Regions from separate parts of the Homo sapiens genome. Here regions 2 and 3 are each linked to region 1. The links are contacts of gene promoters, found by promoter capture Hi-C in blood cells and fetal thymus (Javierre and others, 2016). All regions are on one chromosome and are shown on one strand. Each heading gives the region's core, a stretch centred on a gene start or on the middle of the fragment in contact. The rest is flanking DNA. Distances are from core to core; before and after follow the strand shown. Region 1 holds the start of SCAF8 (SR-related CTD associated factor 8). Region 2 has its middle 82 kb from the start of ARID1B. Region 3 overlaps FBXO5 (F-box protein 5).

What was found. The method cuts DNA at HindIII sites, captures the fragments that hold promoters and counts their contacts. A CHiCAGO score of 5 or more calls a contact.
Region 2: a fragment that was not itself captured here is called in contact with the fragment with the promoter of SCAF8 in region 1 in 1 of 17 cell types (fetal thymus); the score reaches 5.2 in fetal thymus.
Region 3: a contact is called between a fragment that was not itself captured here and the fragment with the promoter of SCAF8 in region 1, in 1 of 17 cell types (neutrophils). The highest score is 5.3, in neutrophils.

What each region holds. Positions count from the first base shown.
Region 1 is chr6:154,731,736-154,735,877 of GRCh38, forward strand. SCAF8 (SR-related CTD associated factor 8) reads left to right here and starts at 1,681. Exons shown (of 20, transcript NM_014892.5): 1 at 1,681-2,195. The coding sequence starts at 2,166. RefSeq lists silencers at 1,314-1,553, 1,584-1,703, 1,854-2,453 and an enhancer at 1,714-2,217. The HindIII fragment of the contact is 14,602 bases long and covers 1-4,142 here.
Region 2 is chr6:156,693,785-156,697,926 of GRCh38, forward strand. No RefSeq gene overlaps it. Among named protein-coding and RNA genes, the nearest start is that of ARID1B, 82 kb to the right of the region's middle. RefSeq lists an enhancer at 3,278-3,327. The HindIII fragment of the contact is 3,647 bases long and covers 433-4,079 here.
Region 3 is chr6:152,974,739-152,978,880 of GRCh38, forward strand. FBXO5 (F-box protein 5) reads right to left here. Exons shown (of 5, transcript NM_012177.5): 2 at 169-883. Among named protein-coding and RNA genes, the nearest start is that of FBXO5, 6.2 kb to the right of the region's middle. The HindIII fragment of the contact is 9,862 bases long and covers 1-4,142 here.

The DNA.
Region 1 (4,142 bases), core at 431-2,930:
TGAGTGCAGTACTTTCTCAAGCCACAGTAAATGCTCCTTTAGATGGAGTGATTAGGGGACCTCTTTCAGGAAGATTGAAGGAGGAGGAGTCAGCTATGGAAAGGACAAGAGCAACAGCACCCTGTGTGAAGAGACACAATTGTCCTACCTATGAAAACACTGCTTCTTGTCAAGTAACAGAAAGGCCAGTGTGGCAGGAGGAGAGTCAGGGAGCAAGGGAAGGTGGTGTGAGCTGCGGCAGGCTGGGCTGGGCCTTCAGGCCATGGTGAGAAGTTATGATGGTATCAAATGGGCAATGAGAAAGTATTTAAGGGATTTAAGTAAGGGAGTGACCTGATCTGATTTATCTAAGAAAAACATCCCTCGGCTACTGTCTGGAAATGAACTGTAGGAAGACAAGCAAGGGACCAGTTAGGAGGCTACTGCAAGTGTCAGTAAAAGATCATGGCTAGGCCTGAAGATGGGAGACGGTGGAGAAATCTGTGACAGAATTTGAGATTTTGAAAGTAAATATAAAAGCACTTGGTGAGTTATCCCTGTTACCTTCTCAGTAGCCAGGCCCTATACTAAAGCTGCCAATGAAGTAGAATGAAGGCTCTGAAACCTCAAGAAGGGCCTTACTTTCCCAGTTTCACGGGGCTCTGCGCACAGCTCTTAGGAACTACCTTGATTCCAAAACTCTCCAAAAGTACGATCCTGCCCTTATGTTCCTCTCTCCCTTTGAGTGAATTTGGGAATGATTGTTGAAAAATGACTTTCAACAAGAGGACAGCAGTGTTCGGGGTTCCACGATACATCCCTATCTTTTAACATCGATAAGTATTTTTAAATTGGTACCTTATTTTGCGCTGCACGAGAGAGAAGGCTTTTTACTAGCAGCATCTCCTAATCCATCTAAGAAATACTGTATTTACCTTTACTCCAAGTATCCTAGGGCAAAATTCCTTTAGAACAATTCATCTTCCGAAACAGACGGGTTCCCTTTTCACCTATTCAAGTGTTGTGCATTCTAGGGTCCCCTTCCCGCCTTGCAGACAAATGCGCTCATTGTGCCACTCCAGTCCCTGGATCCTATGCAGCGGGCATTTCCTGCAAGGAGCTGCTGCATGCCTGTTTCCCTCGCCGCCTGCCCCAACCCGAATCCAAGGCTTTGGTTTCTAATGTTCCCTCCCTGTGCAGTTAAAACAATTGAGTTCAGTTACTAAATAGATGACCAGGAACTTTTTCTTGGCGAAGGCTGCGGATGTTTAGGGCACTGTCCAGTAAAGTTGTGAAAAGCAACTAAACCCTGCCGCTTGTGCAAAAGGACCAATCCACCGGGAAACAAGGGAAACGCGCACATTTCCTCAACTTGCCGCTTCTTGGGCACGTTTAGGCTCTTATTAGAGCCGCGCTTTGGAGTTGCCTCCTCCTGCTGTACAAACCCGCCGCGGCGTTCCCCCGGATGCCGCAGCGCTCACTCCCGCGTCCGCGGGGCGCGGGGAGGGGGCGAGGCGCGGGCGGCCCCGGAGCCAAGGCGAGGGCAGCGGAGCCCAGCCGGGCCTACGGGCGGCGACGCTCTGGCCCCAGCGCGCTCGATGGTTTCCGCGCGGCCGCCGGGGCTCGCACGGTCCAGTCGCCAGGGGGCGCGCTAGCCGGCGCCGCGGATCCCCGAACTGCGCGGCCCGACTCGAGTCCGCCATATTGGATGCCGCAGCCGCTGCTGCCAGCGCTTCCTCCTCTGTCTTCGCCGAGCGGGGCTGGTTCCTGCGGCCCGAGCGGCGGGGAGGTGAAACAGGAGCCCGTCGGAGGAAGGGGCAGAAGGGAGTGGAGAGTGTAGGGGAAGGGGCTAGAGGGAGGGGGACCGAAACGGAGCGGGGCAGAGAAGAGAAGGCGCCGCGGCCCAGCCCCTCCCCCGCCCGCCGCCGACCCGCCCCGGCAGCGCCTCTGTTCCCTAGAACGGCGCTCCCCCCGCCCTAGCGGCCATGCCGGTGCCGCTCTGCCGCTGAGGGAGCCCTTCCCCGCCAGCGCGTGCCCTTCCACTCCGCCCCGAGGTCGCAGCGGCCCGCTCTCCCGCCAGCGCCCCCTCCTCGCGGCCACGCAGCAGCCCGCGTCTCGCTCTCCCCACCCAGTGCAGTGGCCGCCGCCTCTTCCGCCGCCGGGCTCGGGGCCTCCGCAGCGACAACATGGAGGCCGTGAAGACCTTCAATAGCGAGGTTGGTATGGCAGCCGGGTTCCCCTGCTCCTGCCCGCACCGCCCCCACCCCTGGTCGAGGCCGGGGCCCGGAGGGTGGGCGCGGGCCTGCGGGTTTTTTAAGGGTGGGGTGAGCGGTGGCCTAGCAGTGCCCGTGGGGGAGGGGTGTTTCTCCTCTGGGTGCCCCTCCCCCGGGTCCGGGAGGAGGGTTGGGGGAGGGCCGCCCTGGGGCGGAGGGAGGTTCTGGCGTCTCCGGCGTCCTATGGAATGGCTGCGAGCTCGGAGGGAAAGACCCGGTTGGGCCCTCACCCGGAGACTCCCGACAGGTCCCTCGAGGTCAGTTCCGCCGAGGCCTGGCCCGCCCACCTCCTTCCTGGGCCTTTGAGGATTTAAGTGGACGCTGGACATGACTCTCCAGACCTTCCCGGGTCCTCACTGAGGCTAACACCGATTGGGGGCGGTGGGGGAAATGAACCTACGGGGTGTTGATCTGTGGTCACGTTACACGTAGTGTTTATAATTGAGGCATTGTTGACTAGGTAATTTGCCAGCTAGGGACTTGAGCTAATTGGATGGTTGGTAGGCAGGCAAAGGTTATTCTGCAATATCTTTTATTTTTACTCGCTCCTCTTCTAATCCATCACGACATAAAGACAAATGGTAGGGAGAGATCTGTGCATCGAGAGATGGAAGATTATGGGGGAAACATTTCTCGCTGGTTCATTCACGTGTCAAACAAGATTTTAAAAAGCAGATTCCATTTTCACTGTGTAGTTGAATTTACTAGTCTGGAAGAAGACAGGTTTTGATGTATTCAATTTCTTTTTAAACTCCGACTTCAATAGGCCTTAATGTAAACATCAAACATAGCAAGTACACATCTGCACAGTCAGCATTAGTATCCCTACCCGTACGCCTTGGAAAGTGTAATTATGGCCGGGAACAGTGGCTCAGGCCTGTAATCCCAGCACTTTGGGAGGCCGAGGCGGGCCAATCACGAGGTCAGGAGTTCAAGACCAGCCTGGCCAACGTGGTGAAACCCTGTCTCTACTAAAAATACAAAAAATTAGCTGGGCGTAGTGGCAGGCACCTGTAATCCCAGCTACTTAGGAGGCTGAGGCAGGAGAATCGCTTGAACCTGGGAAGCGGAGGTTGCAGTGAGCCGAGATCTGCGCCACTGCAATCCAGCCCAGTGACAGAGTGAGACTCTGTCTACAAAAAAAAAAAAAAGAAAAAGAAAAAGTGTAATTATGCTGGTAACTAAATTAGCATAAATTTTATGAACTCTTAAAGTGCCAATACTTTATTCGATACTATGATTGTTAAAGAGTATCTTTAATATTTACCTCTTAAAATACGAGGCTTTTTGCTGTGACGGCCCAAATAGGACAGTACTTTTAAATGCCGTTGCATAGTTTTATCTTGTTTTAATTTCTTTAAAAAGAAAAACAGTATTTGGGAATCTTAGCTAAGAGGCTAAACGGTAGATAATATTTGGGCTATTTTCAATAGCAGTGATACATAACTTTTTTTGGAAAGCATTTTCTTTTTTAATACTACATTTTTTATTTTTAACATTGATAAATTAGAGCAATAGACTTGGGAATCTTCTTTTTTTTTTTTTTTTGAGACAGAGTTTCGCTCTTGTTACCCAGGCTGGAGTGTCACCATCTCAGCTCACTGTAGCCTCCACCTCCCGGTTTCAAGCGATTCTTCTGCCTCAGTGTCCCGAGTAGCTGGGATTACAGGCGCACATCACCACGCCCCGCTAATTTTTGTATTTTTAGTAGAGATGGGGTTTCACCATGTTGGCCAGGCTGTTCTCAAACTCCTGACCTCAAGTGATCCACCCGCCTTGGCCTCCCAAAGTGCTGAGATTATGGGCGTGTGCCACTGCGCCTGGTGTTTCATTTTTTTTCATAGCTATCTTTCTTTTTTTGAGGAGTGTCATTCTGTCACCCAGGCTGGA
Region 2 (4,142 bases), core at 1,006-3,505, 2.0 Mb after region 1:
TTTGTATTGTTCTTTAGTTGTCTGAGTGCCTCGGGGTATGTTAATCCAGGGAGATTAACTGAGTTTTGTCTTTTTTTTTTTTTTTTTTTTTTGAGACAGAGTCTCACTCTGTAGCCCAAGCTGGAGTGCAGTGGCATGATCTTGGCTCACAGCAACCTCCACCTCCAGGGCTCAAGCGATTCTTGTGCCTCATGTAGCTGGGACTACAGGCGCGTGGCACCACGCCCAGCTCATTTTTTGTATTTTAGTAGAGACAGGGTTTCACCATGTTGCCTAGGGTGGTCTTGAACTCCTGAGCTCAGGCGATCTGCCCGCCTCAGTCTCCCAAAGTGCTGGGAATACAGGCGTGAGCCACCTCGCTCAGTGAGCTTTTGTCTTGACTAAGCATTGTCACCATTTTCACCCACAAGTGGAATGATGGGATTGGATGCAAGCTTGAAATCTTTGATTCCCTTCAGAGAGGGAGCATGGTGGCAATGAAAAGTACATGGTCTCAAAACCACAGTGAGATACTACTTCACACCCATTGGGATGGCTATTATTAGAGAGAGAGAGAAGAAAATAAGTGTTGGCACAAATGTGGAAAACTGGAACCCTGGTTCCAGTCCCTGGTGCAATACTGGTGGAAATGGAAAACAGTGTACCCACCGGGGAAAGCACTATGATGATTCCTCAAAAAACTGAAAGTAGCACTACCATAGGATCCAGCAATCCCACTTCTGGGTATATATACCCCAAATAATTGAAAGCAGGGCCATGAAGAGATATTTGTACACCCATGTTGATAGCAACATTATTCACAATAGCCAAAAGGGGGAAACAACCCATATGCCCATGGCAGATGAATAAACAGATAAATGGTGGAATATCCATACAATGGAATATGATTCAGCCTTAAAGAGGAATGAAATTCGCATACATGCTACAATATGGATGAGCCTTGAAGGCAATATGCTAAGTGAAATAAGCCAGCCACAGAAGGACAAATACTGTGGGATGTCACTTATATCTAGAATAGTCAAACTCATAAAGACAGAAAGTAGAGTGCTGGTTACCAGGGACTAGGGAGATGGGAGGAGAATGAGAAGTTATTATTTTACAGATTCAGAGTTTCAGTTATGCAAGATGAAAAAGTTTTGGAGATGAAACCAAGTGAGGTAGCATGCATCTGTAGTCCCACCCACTCAAGAGGCTGAGGCAGGAGGATTGCTTGAGCCCAAGAGTCTGAGACCAGTCTGGGCAACATAGTCAGACCCTGTCTACACAAAAAATAAAAATTAGTTGCGTGTGGTGGTGCACTCCAGTAATCCTCACTACTCAGGAGGCTGAGGCAGGAGGATGACTTGATCTCAGGAGTTCGAGGCTAGCCTGGACAACATGGCAAGACTCCATATATTTAAAAACAAAATGTTCTGGAGGATAGTGGGGTGGTTGCACAACAATGTGAATGTACTTAATGCTACCAACTTTATACTGAAATATGGTTAAGAGGGTAAATTTCACTTATGTATATTTTATCACAATTTTTTAAAGGATATGGTCTTTGCATTTGGAGAGATCTAGTCTCAAATCCAACATCTCCTAGGTATGACCTTGAACAGGTTGCCTAAACTCCATGAGCCTCAGTTTCCTCCTGTCTAATGGGAATAAAAACACCTAACTTAGAGGATTTTTATAAGAATGAAAACATAAACAGATCTGTAGCGGATTCTGTGGAGAGCCACCCTTCAGGACTCAGGTGCCACTGCCCTAGCTGCTGGGGGTGTTGACTGCTGGCGGCCTACAGCTGTGTCGCTCTCCAGGCATCCGCTCCCACAGGGAGCTGCCTAGCCCAAGTCTATAACCCCTCTTGGGAGACAGCAACTGGTTGATGCTGGTTTATAAGGTCCAGCCCTCTTGCCTCAACTGGAGGAAACTCTGAAGGGTCCTCCCAACCCCACAGCTTTGGCGGGATCAGTTGGGGGTCTGTGTTGAGATACCCCACGTTCTCCCTCTTCCCAGCCCTGCTTCTCTCTTGTTCTTCTGCTGGTGGGAGAACAGGGCTTCTGCCTGTGCATTGCCAGCTCAGAGTCTGTTTCCAGGTAACCCTCTCCTGCTTCAAAATGTTCCAAGAGCTGCCCGTTGGCCTCAGAATGAAACCTGCAATGATTGTCATTTCCTGCAAGACCTGACACAGCAGAGTCACTTACTGTCTGTCCTGTTTCTTCTCCTGCCCCTCCTCCTGCCTCACCCCATTCCAGCCGCCCTGGTCTCAGGAATCCCCACAGCGCCTCTATACTTGCTGTTCTCTCTGCCTGGACCCTCGGCCTCTGGGGTTCACTTCATTCTTCCAGCCCACCCCGTCAGAGAGGCCTGTCTAAAATATCCCCTAGCTGGGCCCCAATGCCCCTCTATCCCTGTACCCTACTTCTTTTTCTTTTTCTTTTCTTTTGTCTTTTTCTTTTTCTTTTTTTTTTTTTTTTTTCTTTTGAGACGGAGTCTCGCTCTGTCACCAGGCTGGAGTGCAGTGGTGCGATCTCGGCTCACTTGAACCACCTCCCAGGTTCAAGCTATTCTCGTGCCTCAACCTCCCGAGTAGCTGGGATTACAGGCACACGCCACCACGCTTGGCTAATTTTTTTTTTATTTTTTATTTTTATTTTTTTTTTTAGTGGAGACCAGGTTTCACCACGTTGGCCAGGATGGTCTCAATTTCCCGACCTCGTGATCCGCCCACCTCGGTCTCCCAAAGTGCGGGGATTACAGGCATGAGCCACTGCCCCTGGCTCTTTATAGCATTGATCATTCCCTGAAATGATCGTGCATACTCATTTGCTTATAAGTACTAGAATGTTTCCCAAAGGCAGGGACTTGCTCTGCCTTCTGCCCTATGGTTCTCCCAGCAACTAGAATCCCTGGCACATACTAGGCACTCCAGAAACATTTGTGGAAAGAATTAATGAATTAGAGCTAATGCACACTGAGCATATAACTCAGTGTATACCATATGTCAGGGCCTCACAGATAGTACATTATTATTTTATTATATTTCTTGTCTGTCCAATTCAGACAGAGAATGTCAGACAAGGTCCTTTTTTTGTATCCCTTTCTATAGCACCAGGCACAGAAGCCCTCCATAAATACTTCTTAACTAGACTTAATATGTTCTAAAGCCAATGGTGAGATAGAACTGAGATTATTTTTTTCGTGGCTGGCTATCAGTTCTATTTCATTTGAATGGCCAAGATTCTCTCACAGCACATCAGGTCTCTATTAAAATTAATTATGATCAGACTCTATCCATCCATCACTTAGGGAGAAAAGATGACAGAGGTGTCCCTCCAAAGTCATCCTGGCCACTCCTGGAGGTGGAAGATTGCTCTGGGGCCCAATGTGACGTGTCTTCACTCTAATCATCAAATATTTTTAAATATTACTCAATAATCTCTAAGAAACTACAAAAAGGGAGGTCATCAATGTGAGTTCTGCCCCCAAAATCACTTAAAGTCCAAACTTGGCAGAGAAGAGAGGCCCCATCACTCTGCACCTGTTCCCTAGCCAGTTCTCACGGCCCAGGGCAATTTCCCCTTTCACTTCCCCTCAAGGGGAATGTACCGCCAAGCACTCCTACCTGGTTTGACATCCCATGTTCATGGCTGGATAATGACAGAGCCCTTCATGAATTCTATGGCATGCAGTATCTTCTGCTCTGCCATGTTCAGGGAGGAGAGAATACACATGCACAGCTGAAATCCCCTAGACAGTTACCATGTATCTATCTCCGTTCAGTGAAACAAGCCTGCAGAATGCTGTGAGCATTCTTTGTTCTTCTTCCTTTTTTGCAGATGTAAGAAAACCTAAGAAAGGGAAGCCATGTCCCTACCAGTAGGAACGCTTTCAAAGGAAGGGAAGGATGTGACAGCTGGGTGCCAGGCATGGTCCTAGAGAAACTGACATCCATTTTGTACTTTAATCCACATCAGGACACTTCAAGGTAGCTGATATTGTCTTCAATTTGCAGATGAGGAAAGAGATTAAAGAAATTAAGTGATATACGTTGGGTCATGTGGATGATAAATCATACACCAGGATTTGAAGTAAGCTTCCTCTGATTCCAGAATGTCTTCTAAGAATCTGCTACACTGCAACGTGCCTTTGGGCTG
Region 3 (4,142 bases), core at 771-3,270, 1.8 Mb before region 1:
ACAAATATTCCAAAATTTGAAAAACATCTGAAATCCTTCTGGTACTAAGCATTTCAGATGAGGGACACTCAACCTGTACAACAGCCTTTGCATGAGCTGGTGGTACTGAGCCACTAACAGCAATGTTCAGTGTATTATGCTAATATGTATATTCAAAACAGTACTTACTTGATTAAGTCCATGTCACTGAGTTGTGCTAAAATAGTTGCTAAGACATGTCTGAGTCCCCTTCGAAAGAGTTCGCTGAGAATATCTACACATTCTAGGCCCATTTTTCTGCCAATTATATTCTGCAGTCTAAAATTTCCTCTGGCTATAATTTCCTTCAGCATCTCCCGATCTACTTTAGGATTTCGTTTTGCATTCTTTTTTAATGTTGAACAAACCACTTTTTCAAAATGAAGAACTGGCAGCAAGTTTTTGTTGGGATATTGGTCTGGGCTTTGTATTTGTAGCAGGCAGGATTGTAGACTGTCACCGAAATTCTCCTCCAGGAGGCTACCTTCTTCATGTTCACTGAGGCCACTTTGTAGAGAAAATGAGGAATAGCCACTGTCTTCATAAAGTCTACTGGTCTCTAGTGCTTCTATTTCATTTGTACTATTAAGTGTCTGTTGCACATGTTGATTTTCCTTGTTATGCAAGCGCTTGCTTTCAGTTTCAAGTTGTACAATCCTAGGGCTCACAATCGGTGACCCAATACATGACAGCCTTTCATAGTCTTTAATGCAGTCTTTACAGGAACCTTCCAAATATGCAGGGGTGTAGGAAACTAGTCTTCCAATGTCATCAGGTTTTACCAGTTTAAGTCCGGAATGAACATGGTTACAATTAAAATCACACTTCATTTTGACAGAAAGGGTAGAACTTTCTTCTTTACAACCTATAAAAAGAACATAACATTTACATCTTAATGGCAAAATTTCCACACATCCCTACTTCTTAAATTGGGATATACAAAGATTACTTTGCAATCTCTCAGCATTAGGTATTGTCTACATGTACTTGCTTACATAGCTGTGATGTTATTCAAGTTTAATTATTGATATGACAATAATATGTGAAAATATTACTTAAATCTTATAAGTACATACATATTATATTATTCTTGAGAAGGCACTTCAGAACAGACTGCTTTTGGATCTGCCTGGCTGTAACACCTGACTGTTGTCTATAACTGATTGAGTAAAAAATAGTGGAAAAAGGGGCTATATAATAAACATCTGTGTTTATGGAACAAATGAAGAAATGTGATGTATCAAAAGAGTAGGCGCTATGGTCAAAGTTATCCTTAAAGTAACCACAAATACTTTTAGATTCAGTGTTTATTCCTTGGACTTGAAATGACATTATGGTTCTCTTTGACGTAAGCACAACCCAAGCCACTGACAGCAAAAGTGGTTAAGATTAGTACAGGAGGACAAGGTATAAGGGTGGGAATAATCTTGATAAAAATAATAAAAATTTTGTGTATTATTTCACTATTAACAATGATTGCAAGCCTTAAAATAACTATTCAAGAAATCTATAGGTAGCTTGGAGAAAAGAACTAATAACACATTTAAACATCTATAAATTAAAGTCTACCTGAATTCCCACAGCTCTTATCTCCAAGTTTTATTCTGATGGGTGCTCCTGGTGACCTTCTAATATATTCAAAGCGTTTGTCTACCTTACTGGATAGTAAACTCGAGTACCGGGACATCTCCCTGTACCTTGTCTAATATGTGCTGGAAACTGCTCTTTAATCACTGAACAAAGACATTCCACGACTAATTTACCAAAGAACCGTAAGTATGAATAGTTCTGCTATCAATCAAAAGTAAGTGTTGGTAAATAAGAATGACACTCTAATCAATTAACCAGATTTAAGAATATGAGTGATAGGGCAGCAGGTGTAAATTACTGTTCAATTGCTTTAAATAACTTAAGATAAACTTGCTATTAATGATAAATAGAAAAAAGGGAAAGACTTGTTCAGGGTTTTATTACCACCCTGCTCCAACCCCCGGGATCTAAGAAATCAGTTAAGACACAATGGAGCAGGCAGCATCTTAAGATAGCTTTAAAGCAAGATTTCACCATCCCTGTGCTACAGACATTTTGCAGTGAATACCTCTTTGTTCTCAGGGACTGTCCTGTGCATTGTAGGATGTTAAGCAGCCTTTACCCATTAGACACCAGTGGCAGCCCCCACTCCCAAGATGCAATGTCTCCAGTTACCAGTTATTGCCAAATACTGGGCAGGGAAAAAGGCCAGATGCAAAATTTCCTCTATTCTTCAGTTGAGAACCACAACTCTAAAAAATGATTAGGATTTTGTCAGACAACAGTGGCCTGGGAAGGGCATTCACAATTTGAGCAACGGCACAATGCTGGGAAGGAATATGGTAGATGGGTTCAGAAAACTGTTTAGCATTGTTGAAGGCAGAGAGTAAGAGTAGGCAAACAATGGGGACATGAGCTAAGAAAGCCTGAATCTTAAATGCCAGGTTAAAATGTGCCCCATCTACCATCCCCACACAAGCCAATCATATATAGCTAACAATTTATCCTGTAAGTAAATGTATACAGCATCAGTATGTTTAGTCTGCACTAAATATTGGTAATGCGTTCATATAAAACTTAACCATTTTTTACATAGAGCAAAACTTTTTAACTCAAAGTAGAAATGGATACCTTCATAGAAAGTAACTTGTAGAGAGAAACTGCTTGTAAATTCCCAATGTTAATACAGTGAAAGACACATAGTATGTGCTCCAGGATCCTACTAAACCTAAAATTAAGGGTTCAGCTGCATAAAAAGCAAAGAATATACAAATTCTAGCTCCCTAATTAACCCTAAACCTAGAACAAATGATTCTGAGTGGTTTAGTTTTATTCAGAGGAAAAGTAAAAAATGCCAAGAGATTGCCTCTATTTTTGCCTCAAATCAACTAAAGAATTAGGTTTGATTTATATATGACCACAATTTACATGACAGGATAAAAAAGCAGAAGCCACTTATGAAGGGCACACTCTGCTTTGTTTAGCTGCCTAAACCAAAAAGGCCTGAAAATACTTCAGGAATTCAAAGTCATTCTCTTTCTGCTGTCTTTAGAACAGTTACTGGGGGGTTGTCCTATAGAACCTCTTTCATTCAACACTGTTCTTTGAATATGGACAGTTCCTTAAAATTAGAGCTAATAATGATGCAAATCCTTTATATTTGTTTAGAAGTTTGCAATTTCCAATGCTTACAAACCTTTTGAGGTAGGATGGGGAATTGTTATTTTTACAATTGAGCACACTGAAGTGTAGCTTAGTTTGCCCAATACAGGCAGTTAATTAAATGAGCCAGATTTCTCTTCCTCATTATAATGAGGTGCTCTGGAAAAACAGATCTTACAAATAACATTCATACTGTTTATAAAAATGATAGAAAAGTCAGAATTTATGTTGCAAGCGCACTTAAGGTACTAAAGAAGAAAATGTGTACGTTTCTTTTCTCATGTGAGCTGGCCCTTTTCCAGTCCTTAGTAACAATGACCTTTCCATCCCAGGGGCTTTGTACATCATGCCTTTCCCTGCTTAGAATCTTTTCCACTTCCTTTGCTTATTTAGCTTCTAATCCATTAATCATGGAGAGCTTCATTTTTTGGGGGGGGGGGGGGGGCGGGGGACTTCTCAGACCTCATCAAACTCTACTCTAAAGCACTACCAAATTGAAATTTTAAAAAGTACTTTAATTTCCTTAAAGGCCAGACATAACTGTTACTGCTTATGACAAAATCCAAGCAAATGGCAGTGCCTGACACAATGAAGACATATGATATAAAAATGTGTTTCCCATTTTTTTTTGTTAGCTAATACCAACATTAGAATCTGTACTCTTCCTCACGAAATTAGCACTTAAGGAGTTAAAATGACTACCACGTTCCTCTTGCAACAACAGTATTTTCACATGGATAATTAGATTTAGTATTTAGGTAAGGTGCAGTGGCTCATGCCTATAATCCCAACACTTTGGGAGGCTGAGGTTGGGGGACTGCTTGAGCTCAGGAGTTCAGACCAGTCTGGGCAACATAAAGAGACTCCATCTCTACAACAATTAAAAAAAGAAACTAGCTGGGCATGGTGGCATGTGCCTTTGGTACCAACTA